Linked DNA regions of Homo sapiens: region 1 is linked to region 2. The links are contacts of gene promoters, found by promoter capture Hi-C in blood cells and fetal thymus (Javierre and others, 2016). All regions are on one chromosome and are shown on one strand. Each heading gives the region's core, a stretch centred on a gene start or on the middle of the fragment in contact. The rest is flanking DNA. Distances are from core to core; before and after follow the strand shown.

Region 1 (6,692 bases), core at 426-2,925, 210 kb after region 2:
AAAGTGCAGTGGCACAACCATGGCTCACTGCAGCCTTGACCTCCCAGGCCCAAGCAATCTTCCCATCTCAGTCTCCCAGGTAACTAGGACCACAGATGTGCACCACTACACCCAGATAATTTTTAAATATTTTGTAGAGATTGGGGTCTCCCTATGTTTCTCAGGCTGGTCTCGAACTCCTGGGCTCAAGGGATCCTCCCACCTCAGCCTCCCAAAGTGCTGGGATTACAGGCATAAGCCACCATGCCCAGCCTGGAATGCTCTCTTTTAAGGAATTTATATGTTTGCCTCATTTAATCCTCAAGTACTCATTAGTAAGGTACTATCGGTATTAGTAAGGTACTGTTGGTACAACTGAAGAAAACGCGGCACAGAAATTAAATACCTTGTCCAAACTCACAAAAGTAGTCAATGGCAAAGCTGAGATTGAAACCTTAGCACCTAGAATGTGTGAAGTAGGGCCTAGCCCATGAGCAGGTTCTCAAAACCTATCTGCTAATGTTAACCCAGGTCTGCAGCAAGGCTTACTGATTCGCCATTCAGCCCTACATCCAGTCCCCTCCCTCCTTGCCTTGCACTGGAGTCATTTTTACATCTACTACCATTAGCATTCAGTCAGAATATGAGATGCCAGGAATCTAATTTGACTTGATTAATTGTACTGTAGGATGCCAGTGATATGTGTGGCCCTTGCCTGTGTGATCATTACAAATAGAATACACTAGAGATATTACTTGGGAAATAAGCTTGGATTTGATTGGATGAGAAGTTCAGCTCACTGACAGACCAAGAGAGTGAGTCCAATATGAGACAACCCCAAGGCAGATTTCTTCAGACATGGTCATAGAGAAAAGGAAATAAACAGGTTGAGGGGATGAGTTTGGAAGGAAAGAAGACTCGAGTTCAAATCCTGGGTCTGCATTTCCTCCTTATACGATTTTGGGTAAGTCACTTACCACTCCTAAACTTCGGTTTCCTTTTCACTTAATTGAGAATAGAAATTGCTATCATGGAGGGTGGCTGTGATGATTTAGAGGAGATAAAATTATGCCAAGTGCCAGTGAAGGGCTGAGTATGCGGTTGGGGCTTAGGGCTTAGTCATCCAGGAGAGCCAGTGGAAAGGCGGATGCCTGCTCTTCGTCAGTGCTGCGTGAAAGCAGCAGAGACGGAGAGTTGCCACTGAGCAGCTCCAGCACCACAGCTGGGACTTGGTCCCTGTAAGCTGGCATCCCACCTGTTGTCCCAGAGCCACCTGAGCCAGTCAGTGCGCTCAGAAGCAGAACAGAAGGCAGGAGCTTCACCAGCAAGCTCCATTCAGAGGGAACCTCTCTTCAAAGATCAAGTAAGCCTTTGATCTTGGTGGGAAATTGACTATCCTCTCTCATTCCTCTCTCCTTCCACCACCTGTGCTTCAATTCACTCATCCATCTTACCAGCATTCATGAGGTAGCCAGCCATCTCTCCATCTATGCATGTATCTTGATGTAGGCATCCATCCATCCATCAGACCTGACATCCATCCTTCCACCTCTCCATTTTGCAGAGGAATCACACAGACCTGAGTTGGAATCCTGGGTCTTGCTTCCTAGCCGACCTCGAGCAAGTCACTAACCTCTCCAAGTCCTCTAATCTGTAAAATGAAGGGAAATCAGATGTCGCTGGGATGAGGATTTAAAGAGAGCGTAGACATACCAGTGTCTGGCCTCAGCAAAGTCATTAAATGTTCATTCCCTCTGCTTCTGCAATCTGGTTGGGATTTATGCAAGGAAATAAACCACCGCATCTTTTGCATGACATGTTGAGAAGTGCTTTTTAGAAATTATCTGCGATGTTTTAGTGGTGTGCATCTTCCGGTGGCACCCAGGGCTGGGCAGTGGCCAAAGCAGTTTGGGGTGGTGGTCCCCCCTGGACTCACAGTAGAGAGTGCCATCTAGTGGATAGGCACCTGCCGGGGTCCCCTGTTGGTCCCAGGTCACAACAGCTGAGGTCAGGCAGCTAAACGGCAAGCCAGGAGGTCCAGGCGAACCCAGCCCCCAGACTGTAGGCTGCCCTTTTTGGGATGTAGTGCATGTGCTGTTTTAACCACTCAGGGGACCTGGACTGCCAGGAGCCTTTTGTTTTATGGACAATAGCCAGCTATGTTTTGCCTGCCCCTGCCCAAATCCCCTTTAAACGTTTCTGGGAAAAAGAATCATTCTCGCAGCTACTGTTTGCTGAGTGTCTCTGACATATTAGACATGCGGCTGGGGCTTCAGGGGTTAATGCTCTAACCCTCTCAATGACCCAAGGAGAGACCCAGAACTTGCCCCATTTTCAGTGAGAACACTGAGGTTTGCTGAGGTTGAGTTTCTCATTTAAGGTCCAGGCAGATATTCAACCCCTAAATGTGTAGCCATACTTACCTTCTAGAGCCCCAGATCCCCTTGAAAGAGCAGGAGATAGTTTGAACACTGACTTGACCAAGCCAACTGTAAAAGAAATTTATGAGTCAATCAAGAATATTGGAATGCTACATAGATGGTGGATGATATTAAGGAAAGGCTATTAATTTTTTAACTTGTGATAATGGTGTTGTGGTTTTATTTTTAAGAAACAAAAGCTTCTTATTTAGAGATACAAACTAAAAAATGCTCAGAGGAAACAGGATGGTGTCTGAAATTTGCTTCGAAATAGTCCAGGGGTAGGGGTTGGGCAGTGGGAGTAGAGGGACAGTTTAGGGTTTAGATGAAACAAGAGGGGCCAGGGTTTGACGGCAACCGTGTCCGGGTAATGGCAAGATGAAAATTGAGTAAACAGTAAAAATACGTACTATTTTCTCTACTTTTGTGTTGTTTGCAATTTCCCATAATAAAGGGATTTTTAAATCAACAAGTGAAAATACAGTGCAGAAGATGAAGGGCTGGGGGTGAAGGGTGCCATTTAAAAGAACAGAGGGGCCTGGGGTATGAGAGAAATTTTCTGGAGTAGCAGGGAACTGATTCACAGGGGGCAAATGCCTCAAAGTGAAAAGGGAACTAGAGGGGCTGGATCCAGAGGGAAGAGAATCATTCCACGTTGAGTGGACGGAGGACGATGTACCAGGGTGCAGAGTGTTGCGGAACGAGACACCCGCCAGCTGCCCAGAGACCCTCCTGCAGCCCCCAGCGCTCCTCTCCCCACTCTCCCTCCCAGTCCCTGCCTCCCCGAGCCCTCCAGCTCTCTCCCTGACCCCTGGCTGGAAAAGGGCCTGAGGGTACCACTCTTCAAGGCAGAGCGGCCACCTGATGAGCCCTTCCCTGGGACTCTGGTCCCAATTTGGTTACTGGGACAACGCTGTCTCCCATTAGACACGCTTTGAAGGAAGACCCTGGAGTGACCGGCTCAGTCATGCTGGGAAGGATTCAGCTGTCTAGCTTTCAAATGCCTTTTTTTTTTTTTTTGGCTTTTTTATTTCTTTTGGAAAGATAAGAGTTGATGCTTTTACCCTAAAACTGTGTGCCAAGCCGCTCTGGCTATCCTCAGCCCCACTCTTCCCCTATCTCTGTAGCCCTCCTTTCCGTCCTTCATAGGCTGCAAGCTGACTGGCGCCCGACCCCAGGTCCACACCCACCTCCCTCTACCCCCTGGTCCATGCACCACTCCCGGCCTCCTCCCCCACTCTTCTCTTTCTGGCCCCGCTGCAGAGTCTCGGGCCCCTCGGCTTCCTGGGCGCCTGGCCACCACGCAGCGCCTGGAAGTGCTCCCTCCCTCATCTCTCGTTCCCCACTTTGGAAAGCCGGCCACCGGACAGGACAGCTCCCGGGACAGCTCCCGCAGCCTGCTGCATTGCAGCGCAGCCGTCTGTGAGGGAGGGGCGCAACCTGCAGCCCCCGCCCCCCGCCCCGACCACCCCCGCCCAGCAGCCCCCAGCCCCGGCACGGCCGGCTCCCCCGCCGCACCGCACGCATCTGTCGCAGTTAAAAGCGCCGCTGCCAGAGCAAAAGCGCCGGTCCCTCTTGACTGTCCCCCTCCTCACTTTTCGGGCTCAGAAATGTGGCCCAGGCAGCCCCCTTGTGGCACGTGGGGGCGCCACAGACTCTTGGCTGGTGTCTGAAGAATTCAGACTGTCTGATTCCACCGCACCGTGAGTTGGCACAAATCTTCGGTGGCCCAACTCCTACCCGATGCAGAACTCTGCTCAGCGGCCTCTCTGAGTGGGGGGCACCTCTCCCCTCCCCTCTCCCCGTCCACACCTCTCCCTTCTCCCTCCAGGGAGGAAGCGAAGGAACTCTCCTGTTGAATATTGCTCTGACAAGCAGACAGGTGTCTGGCAAACGTGATTGGGGTGGTGGGGGAAGGGGGGGGCCAGGAGGGTGGTGGGAATGGGGGCTTTTCTCGAAATGACGTTTGGTTTCCATCTCTTATCTCACAGATGGGAAACCGAGGTGCGGGGAGGGCCATAGTCCCTGTCTGTGTCAGAGTCAAGGCTGGAGATCCTCCTCCAAGTCCAGCCTGGGGCATTTCCCTGAGGTGCCGGGGCACCCTTAAGACGTACCCCTCTTCCCCCTCCCACTTGTCCAGCCCCTCCAGATCTGGTTCTCCCCGTCCGGAAGCCCTGGAGGGCCCCTGGATGTTCTCTGTCCTCTCTAACTCACTGTCCACACAAACAAGCCCAGCCCCCTCCGTCTCTATCTGCAATCTACTTGCAGACAGGCAGGGCCCTCTCCACATCAGGTTAATAATGCCATTTTCATAAGCCTCTGCCCATAGGTGCTACCACCTAATTTTGAATCTGCCCTTCAAACGGATTGGGCCACAGAGGAGCTGGGATCTCAAGCACCGCTGGGAGGTGCTTATAACTAATCAATCCGTCCCCTGCCCACCCACACCCCCCCAGCACTCGGCACAGCCTCGCTGAGCAGCCTTCAGCAGCAGGGTGTGGTGGGGAGCCTCGGAGAGTCTGGGGTTCCATCCTGGCCCAGCCTCACACCAGCTGAGAGACGGTGAGTATAGGACTTTGCCTTTCTGTGCCTCAGTTTCCTCATCAATCTAATGGGGCTCATGAGACCAGTGTGCAGGGTTATTGCCCGGGTGAGTTCTTTGCAGACAGCCCAGTTCGGGACTTGGCTCCAAGACGGGGCTCCATAAATCTCCATGCCTGCACCCCCTCTTGATCACCTCAATTTCCAGTGTCTTATTCCCTGTTTGTTTCCCCCACCAGACCGACTGAGCTTCGAGGACAGGAAGCCACCGGCATCACTAAGCCACCGGCATCACTTCATCCCCAGCCTCACGCTTGGGACTGGGCCCGGGGAAGGTAGGTACACTGTGGTGGCTTGGAGAATGAGTGCATGGATGGATGTCTGTCCCATAGTCTATGGGATGCCCGGACCCCGCTGAGTTTCTCCTCCCCAGACCCCTGTCTAAGCTGGCCCTTCAAGGAAGCCGCCGGGAAAAACTGTTCCTTTATGCCTTCATGCTTTACCCCTCGTGCTGTTATATACAATGCAAATTCTCGGTCTATTAAATGCAGATGTGGGCTCTGCATGTCATTTATGCTGCCTGCTGCATCTACTGTGAGTTCCACAGGCCGGGGGCTGCCTCCGGCTGACTTGATTTGTGCGATTAAGCCAGCAGAGGGGACTCTGCCAGGAGAGGTTCCCGTTTGTATTGGGAGCAGGGTCTTGAAAGGCCAGGCTGTTTTCTCTCTTGCGACACTTGTTACATACCTCTCTCTCCCTCCCTGGGTCCCACCGTCTACTCCACAAGCATTTATGAAGTGTCTGATGTGTGCAAGCCTACACTTATCTCATTTAGTCCTCACTTCACGCCAGTGACGGAGAAACTCTCATCTCCATTTCACAGGGGAAAAGCCGAGTCTGAAAAGTAAAGGGAATTGTCTTGCAGCTAGAGAGCAGGGAGTCAAGCCGGTCTGCCTGGCTCGGGAGCCCCCAGCCCTGCTGTGGCTGCCTACTGCTGCTGCTGCTGCTGCTGCTGCTACTGCAGGGCTGACCAGGGCTGGCCGGGAGGCCAGCAGCTCCTGCAGAAAAGGCAGGGGGCTGCATACAGAGCGTTCTCCCTAGCAACTGGAAAAGGGGCCATAGAAAACCCAAGAGGGCTGAGAAGCCGCTCAACAGATAGACATGGAGCAGCTGGCCCCAGGAGGGGAGCACCACGCCCTCCCCTGGGCTTTTAGCAGAACAGCAGGGCAAAGGGCTCTGTCCCAGGTCTAAAAGAACAGAGACAGAGGTGTTAGGACAGGTGTAGAGGCGCCCAATCCTGTTCCCACCATTGGTGGGGGTATTGCCATTCAGCACAGAAAGGAGAGGACTGAAAAGAGAGGGAGCCCACAGCCTGCAGAGATCGGAGGGCAGAGGGGGCAAGGGGGCTGCTGCACAGCCGAGGAGGCAGATGCAAAAGGCAGGGGAGGGCTCAGCAAAGCAGCTCTGCGTGCGAGCCCTGAGCAGGCTGCCTGGGGAGAGAGGGAGCTCCCTGTTACAGGAGGCATCCGAGGGGAGAGAGGCAGGCCAGTGCTTGGCTGAGAAGGCTGCAGCACGGTTTCCTGCCCAGGCTGGCAGCCCACATGTTTAGGCCTTTGAGAAGCTCCCACAGCACCAACTCCTGAGCAGGCAAGCGGGCAAGTGAGCGAGGTGGCCAGAGGGGACCAGGCAGGGGTCAGTATGAGGCCATTTGGCCTCTCCCGAGTAGCTTGCCCTGGGCTAAATGGCAAAGGC
Region 2 (6,582 bases), core at 1,145-3,644:
CAGCATGTACATGTGCGTGGTTGCCTTCTTTAGCTCAGCAGTAGGTCTGTGAGATCCACCTGTGTTGTGGCATGCCAACAGCTCTTTCCTTTTCCTTGCTGTGTAGAATTCTTTGCATGAATATAATGGGATTTACTGCACATGTTACAGTGAATGGGCCTGGGCTCCCAGCCTCCTGGTCCCCACCAAAGGCAAGCTTCTTCCTCTCCCATCTGCTTCCCATTCTCCTGCTGACCGCAGTCTCTGTCCATCCTCCCAAGCTCTCAGAATCTGAGGCTCACGGTGTCAAGAGTGGAGGAATCAAGCCGATCGGGCTGGCTCTCCACCCAGACTGGGGGACTCCTCACTGAAGGGCCTCCACCTGGAAGATCAGGGCATGAGAGCTTCAGAGAGAGGCCAGGGGTGCTGACAGGTGAGCAGCCCTGGAGGCCTCCTGAGGACAGGCCCACCCCGTCCCAGTGCTGGCCTTGATCTATCTAGGGCCCAGTCCCACCGCAGGCTCCCTTGGGCCCTTCCAGGGTCTCGGGGAGGAAAGCCCTGGAATGACCTCTCATCATCTCTCATCCTATTCCAGAGATTTCTGGATAACACTTGTGCTTGAGAGGCCGAGCTCATGGGATCCCAAGGAGGCAGAGCTGCTAGAGGGGCCACCTGAGTTCTCCAGTCCTGGGAACACCCCACTTCGCTCTGAACCAACAAAGGCCTCCGCTCTCCCATTCCGAGGTCGTGTCCTGGGATCGCTGTGTTGAGTAATTACTTACTGGAAGCCGTCCCTCCCTCAGGTGGTGGGTGGGCCGTGTGCGCGCAAGTTCGAATTGTGTGTCCACAGAGGGAATATTCATGAACTCAGTGGCGGGGGTGGGGGTGTTTTGGAAGACAGACTTGGATTTCTGAGGGAGAAGATACTTACAAGGCCTTGGTGGCCAGCCAGGTTCCCCCTCAGCCTCTCGGGCAAGGACCCCAGGAGGCCACACATCGGGGGAGGCCTGGAGGCCCTGGGGCCAAGTATTTGGTTCCTGTCGATGAACAATTTAATGAGAGTTTTCAGAAGGGCCAGACAGCCCTGGGATGAATGGCTGATCCCAAAATAGCCTCAGCTGGCACTTGGGCAGCTTAAAAGAGGCTTAAAAACAGAAAGAACCTTCAAAGAAGGGTGCCCGGGTGCCCCTGAAGCACTCTCATGCGGAGGCCTGGGGTTCTGCTCCCCAGGGACGCTGCCCTGCCCCACTCTGCCCTGAGCAGCCGGGCACAGATGCACTCTGTCACATCCCGTCCTGGCAGAGGCCAGAAGGGGCTTGGCAGAAGGAGCCTTAGGTGAGCACCGTTCCCACCCAAAATGCCTGCCCTCCAGTCCGCCACGGTCGGCCCAAGCTCCCATACCACTGCCCATGTTGGAAAAGCCCCTCTTGGCAGCCCCTATCCCCCAGCAGGCAAGAGTGGTCCTGAGCCTGGAAGGAATGTTCTAGATGGGAAGAATTGTCTCCTACTCTCGGTGGGGTGCCCCGGACCAGCTACAAATGGTGAGGAAGACTTGACTCAAGAGTATTACAGCAGGGACAGAGATGGACTCAGTTCTGAACACAGTGGGGACACCTGGGGATTGACAGCCCATGGGCAAAGGGAGGGGCTGTGGATGGAAAATGATGACGTGGAATTCAATCATTTGTCAAGGGGAGGGGATTCTCAATCAGCTCACTTAGGATTCTCTGCTAAAATTGAGTTCAGCAGGCCGTGGTGGAGTCTCGTGGAGAAGAGCTCAGAGAGAAGGGCCCAACTGAAGGGCAGCCAGGGAGGGATCCCTGTTCAGCCACACGGAGGGCCCCTTGTCCTGAACTTCCTCTCGGATTCACTGCTCGCTTCAGCCCAGTTGCCCTCGTTGGCTCCCCTAGCACAGCTGACGTAGCCCTGAGACTTCCTCAAACCCGTTTAAAAGCTGGGGGACAAAGGGGAAGGAAACGCAGTGAGCACACCAGCAGGCTTCTGTCCCCAGCCAGGGCCCGTTCCTCTGGGTGGCCCTGGCTCGGGCCTCCGGTGGAGCCTCCTGCTCTGCGGATCTTCTGGTTTCTCATCTGCCCTCCCCTGAGCCCTGGGAGGACGGCGCTCACCGACACACTGGAGCTGCGCAGTTTCAGGCCACTGTTCCCAGACTTGCACTGACTCCATGATGATCAACTCTGCCCAGGAAGTTGTCTCAGAGGGTCACCAGGAAGTGCACGGTCCAGGTGGGCATTGGGTCATCCCAGCCCCAGAAAGGCTTCAGCATCAGAGGGCTGCAAAAATCTGTGTCCCCTGGCCCCCACGGGACACAGTTCTGCAGATACAGGGCTTCCCAGCAGGGCCCCAGTTCCAGCCCTCCTTGCTTCCAGGCACAGGCACAAGCTTCTTCTCAAAAAGACTGTGAGTGGAAGGGAAGTGGGCCACTTCCGGGCTGAGGTTTCTGAGATAGGGCTGGGCCATCCCCCTGGCCACTTTCCTTCTTTGCCAGCTGCACACAGAGGGCTCTGACTCTCCCTGAACAGCAGAGCCACAGGGGTCCCTGAGTCAGCCAGGAAGAGGGCCACCTGCCCACCAGAAGCACCACATGGAGCTGTTCAGGAAGCAAGAATTAACGGTGTTACATGAAGCCACTGAAATGCGGAGGTTTTGCTTGTTAGATGCTATTATAAGTTCCCTAATATGGCATGTTATAAATCATCTCTGGCTGCCTCTGAATACAGTGTGTTTTCTAAACCAAAAGTCGCAGAGTTTATTCCCGCCTTCTTTAAACCTCCGCAGTGCATGGCTTTCCCTCCTGGATGTCACGCACCTGCCGGTCCCCTGAGCTTTGAGTACTGTCTCCCTGAGCCGCACGGGATGGTCACGCAGGGTCAGGGCCCGTCTGGCCATCGCTGTGTTCTTGGGCCCAGCACAGGCTGTCCCCCGGTGGCTGTTTAGAAGAGGGGCAGGGCTAATAGATCCTAATTGTCTCTGCCATGCTCCTCCTGTCTGTTCTGGGATCAGTGGACGCCTCGTTCCTCTTGTTTTTCATTCGTGGGACTTTCATGGGAAGCTATTTCCCTGACGGCTGTTTGCACTGATTTTTCTGAGACGAGCAACATCCTTTGCTTCTTTTCCTCTAATCATCTGGAAATGCTGTGTCTCTTGGCATCGCTGTCTTGCCTGTCTTCCACCCACCAGCTGTCCAGCTCAGAGCACTCTCAAGAGAGTTAGCTCTGGAAGAAGGACACAACCCCCTTCAGAAGGTTCTGAAATGTAGAATGCTGCCTCTCCCTGGGGCTGGGGAGTTAAGGGAAAGCACGGTGTGGGAGGGAGAAAAGCAGGACTCACCTCTGCAACCCGAGGCTGCCTGCCGAGCAGGACAGGAAAGCAGGAGGTGGGGGGAGGAGGAGAAAGACTCCTTTGGGGGCAGGAGCCTGAGTTCATATCCCGCTCAACCACGGGCTCGCAGATCCCCAAACTAGAGGAGATCCGAGGTGCAGGAAGAATGAATACCCAGTGCTTGCTCCCCTTTCAGGCAAAAGAATCATTCTGTTCATTTGACAGATGAGAAAACTGAGGCCGAGGGAGTTCAGGTAATTGGGAAACTAAGACTCAGCCGGGAAAGTGATCTGGTCAGGACACACGTGGAGTGGTACACGATGGATGCAAACCCTAGCTCCTCCGACTGCCCAGCTCTGCCCCTGACCACACCTTCATGGTGTCCATGGATATGTTCGAGAAGGATGGCAGCCCTGGCCTCCTGCCTTGGAGCTGGCCCCTCCCGGCGATCCAGCCCTCATCTCTAAGAAGGGAAAGCCCAGCCCCGTCACATCCTGGCCACGCCCGACTGTCTTCACGCTCCTGGGGCTCGCTCTTGGCTCCCAGACACCCCATGTTCACTGTGCCCCCCGGGCCTGGTCTTTGTCTAGGGCCTCCTCCCTCCTTGCTCAAGCTGATTAAAGCTGATCTCTGTTCCAAGCAATTAAACTCCAACCTGAGACCCTGCCCCTGGTACCGCCCAGGGCTGCTGTTGGCTCCACGGAGACAGCGTCTTTCTTTGCACAGCTGTACATGCGGAAGGGATGGGCTCGTTCGGAGTCAAGATGGGGTCATTTGGGACAGTTCTGGACTGGGCCAAGGTCAGGAGACCTTTCCACCATTGCAGTTTCCTTCTAGTGTATAAGATACACAAACAGCAACACATCTGCCTCTAAAGCAGGGGAAAAAGAACAAGAAAAGCAAACTCCTTCTTAAAGCTTATTAGGAAGACAACACGTCATGTTAATTCTTTTAGTGGAGTGATGATGCGGGGAGAAACAACACTGCAAGTCCTCAGGGACTCTCCCCCACGTGCTCATGGAGACACTCAACTCTGTTCCAAAGAACAAAGTTGAAATAGTTTGTAGGCGAGAACTTGATGAAAATTTGACATTTGATAAGAAACTAATTTTGGTGTGCCTTTTTAATACCTTAAAACACTATAGTAATAAACAACATCTATAAATGTCAAACTTTTCTATTTTGATTATGTTGCTTTGATTTTTATCAACTTTTTTTTATTAAAAATCCACTGTAAATGAAATAGAGAAGGGAAGATCGGCACAAAAAGATAAATTTTACAGTTTATCAAGATGTAAGCGACAGCATCTCATTTTTTTCAGCACTGGGATTATTATTTTTTGTCTCACTGTGGTTATTATGATGTTTTTATCTTTGTCTTCGAGTCTAGGAAACTTGCAGAGCTATGGGAACTGGGATTAAATTGCAGAGTGAAGGCGGCTTTCGCCTCAGCAGAGCAGAAAGATGCCAAGGTGGGCCAGGGATGGGGGAGGAGGGACATGCTCAGATTCTCTAGCTCTTTGGGTAGCTGCCAGAAGAGTGGAGTTAACTCTTCTAGGACCATAGCCCTTCCCTGGCTAGTGCTAAAGTTCCTCTCTGAACCCCTGTGGGTTCCCCCACACCCACTCCCCATTCTGAAGTTTCACATTTAGTTGAGGCCTATGTCCTATGGCTGTCCAGGCTCCAGTGGGGGATGGATCTAAGTCTGGGTTCCCTGTGCCAAACATGAAGGCAGTGTTTGTGAGTGCTGGAAGGAGAGATGGAGGGAGGTGGATAAATGGGGAGATGAATGGATGGATGGATGGGCATAAGGATGTATGGAAAAGTGGATTGACAGATGGAGGAATATATAGATATATGGAAGGAGAAAAGGATGAATGGAATGACAGAGGGAGAAAGAAGCAGATGAATGGGTGGGTGGATGGATGGACACATGGAGAGATGGATGGATGGGTGGATGGATGGATGGATGGATGGATGGATGGATGGACGAATAGAAAAGTGGATGGAAGGATGGGAGAATATACAGATATATGGAAGGAAAATGGATGAATGGAATGATGGAGGGAGAAAGAAGCAAATGAATGGGTGGGTGGATGGATGGACACATGGAGAGATGGATGGATAGGTGCATGGATGGATGGATGGATGGATGCATGGATGGGTGGATGAATGAATGGATGGATGGGTGGAAAAGTGGATGGATGGATGGATGGATGGTTGGATGGATGGATGGATGGATGGATGGAAGAATACGTAGATATATGGAAGGAAAATGGATGAATGGAATGATGGAAGGGAGAGAGAAGCAGATGAATGGGTGAGTGGATGGATGGACACATGGAGAGTTGGATGGATGGATGATGGACAGATGGATGGATGATGGACACATGGGTGGATGAACGAATGGATGGGTGATTATATGAATGCAGGGAGGTATGCATGAAGATAGGGAGAAAGGGGGAGGGTGGGAGAGCAGGCCTGTTCACTGGCTGGCAATTTTAGAACCACAACCTGTCAAGGCTTTAGTTCAGGCTTAATAACCTCCCCAGATCCTTCTGGCTCTGAATATTTTCAGTCCTCCAAAGTCAAGCTCAAAATAAAAGGGAAGGAAAATAAATCTCTTAAGGTAGCCTCTGTGTGCTTTTGAGAAGCAGTCACTTACAAGGACAACCATAATAATCATTTTTCTATTCCTTCCCAATTTGTAAAACATGTCCATGCCCTCATTTAACCCTTACAACCACTTGGAGATGAACATCATCCCAGCTTATCTGACAGCGGAACCGGGACTCAGAGAGCAGGGGTTTGCCCAAAGTCAGATTGCAAGTGACAGACAGAACTGGATCCTGGAGAGTCGAGCCTTCTGGCCCCTCTCCCCCAACAAGTCCCATCTCTGGCCTCAGGAGGCCGAGCTTGCTGGAGGCCCAGGGTGGTGGGTGGCATGCCAGATTCAGCTTCCTTTTGTGCAGTCTGGTGGGAAAAAAGGAGCCCGACAAAGCTGGAGAGTATCGGAAGTCTTGCCTGAGACGCAGAGCTCTGGAGCGTTCCAGGCCTGTGAATTCCCTGCTCCTGGAGGGCAGGTGGGAGAGGAGCTGATGCTGTTCACGGTCAGGTCAGACGGTGCCGCAAGCCTGTCCTGAGAGATTTGGGATCCGGAGGTTTGTGCACAATGGTGGCAGCAGCACAGACGTAAAGCCCCAGTCCTCAGCATCAGAATCCGTGACTCTTCTGAAAATGTGACTTCAATTCCACCAGCGCTGC

What was found. The method cuts DNA at HindIII sites, captures the fragments that hold promoters and counts their contacts. A CHiCAGO score of 5 or more calls a contact.
Region 1: a fragment that was not itself captured here is called in contact with the fragment with the promoter of LINC02285 in region 2 in 1 of 17 cell types (endothelial precursors); the score reaches 5.5 in endothelial precursors.

Annotation. Positions count from the first base shown.
Region 1 is chr14:100,901,874-100,908,565 of GRCh38, reverse strand. MEG8 (maternally expressed 8, small nucleolar RNA host gene) reads right to left here. Exons shown (of 51, transcript NR_146000.1): 6 at 2,403-2,468; 7 at 1,434-1,630. It overlaps RTL1 (retrotransposon Gag like 1), which reads left to right and starts at 4,844. Exons shown (of 4, transcript NM_001134888.3): 1 at 4,844-4,961; 2 at 5,180-5,275. The HindIII fragment of the contact is 1,853 bases long and covers 749-2,601 here.
Region 2 is chr14:101,116,668-101,123,249 of GRCh38, reverse strand. LINC02285 (long intergenic non-protein coding RNA 2285) reads right to left here and starts at 2,394. Exons shown (of 2, transcript NR_146490.1): 1 at 2,106-2,394; 2 at 1-361. It overlaps LOC124903386 (a long non-coding RNA gene), which reads left to right and starts at 1,954. Exons shown (of 2, transcript XR_007064341.1): 1 at 1,954-2,222; 2 at 2,486-2,736. RefSeq lists an enhancer at 6,141-6,582. The HindIII fragment of the contact is 1,856 bases long and covers 2,382-4,237 here.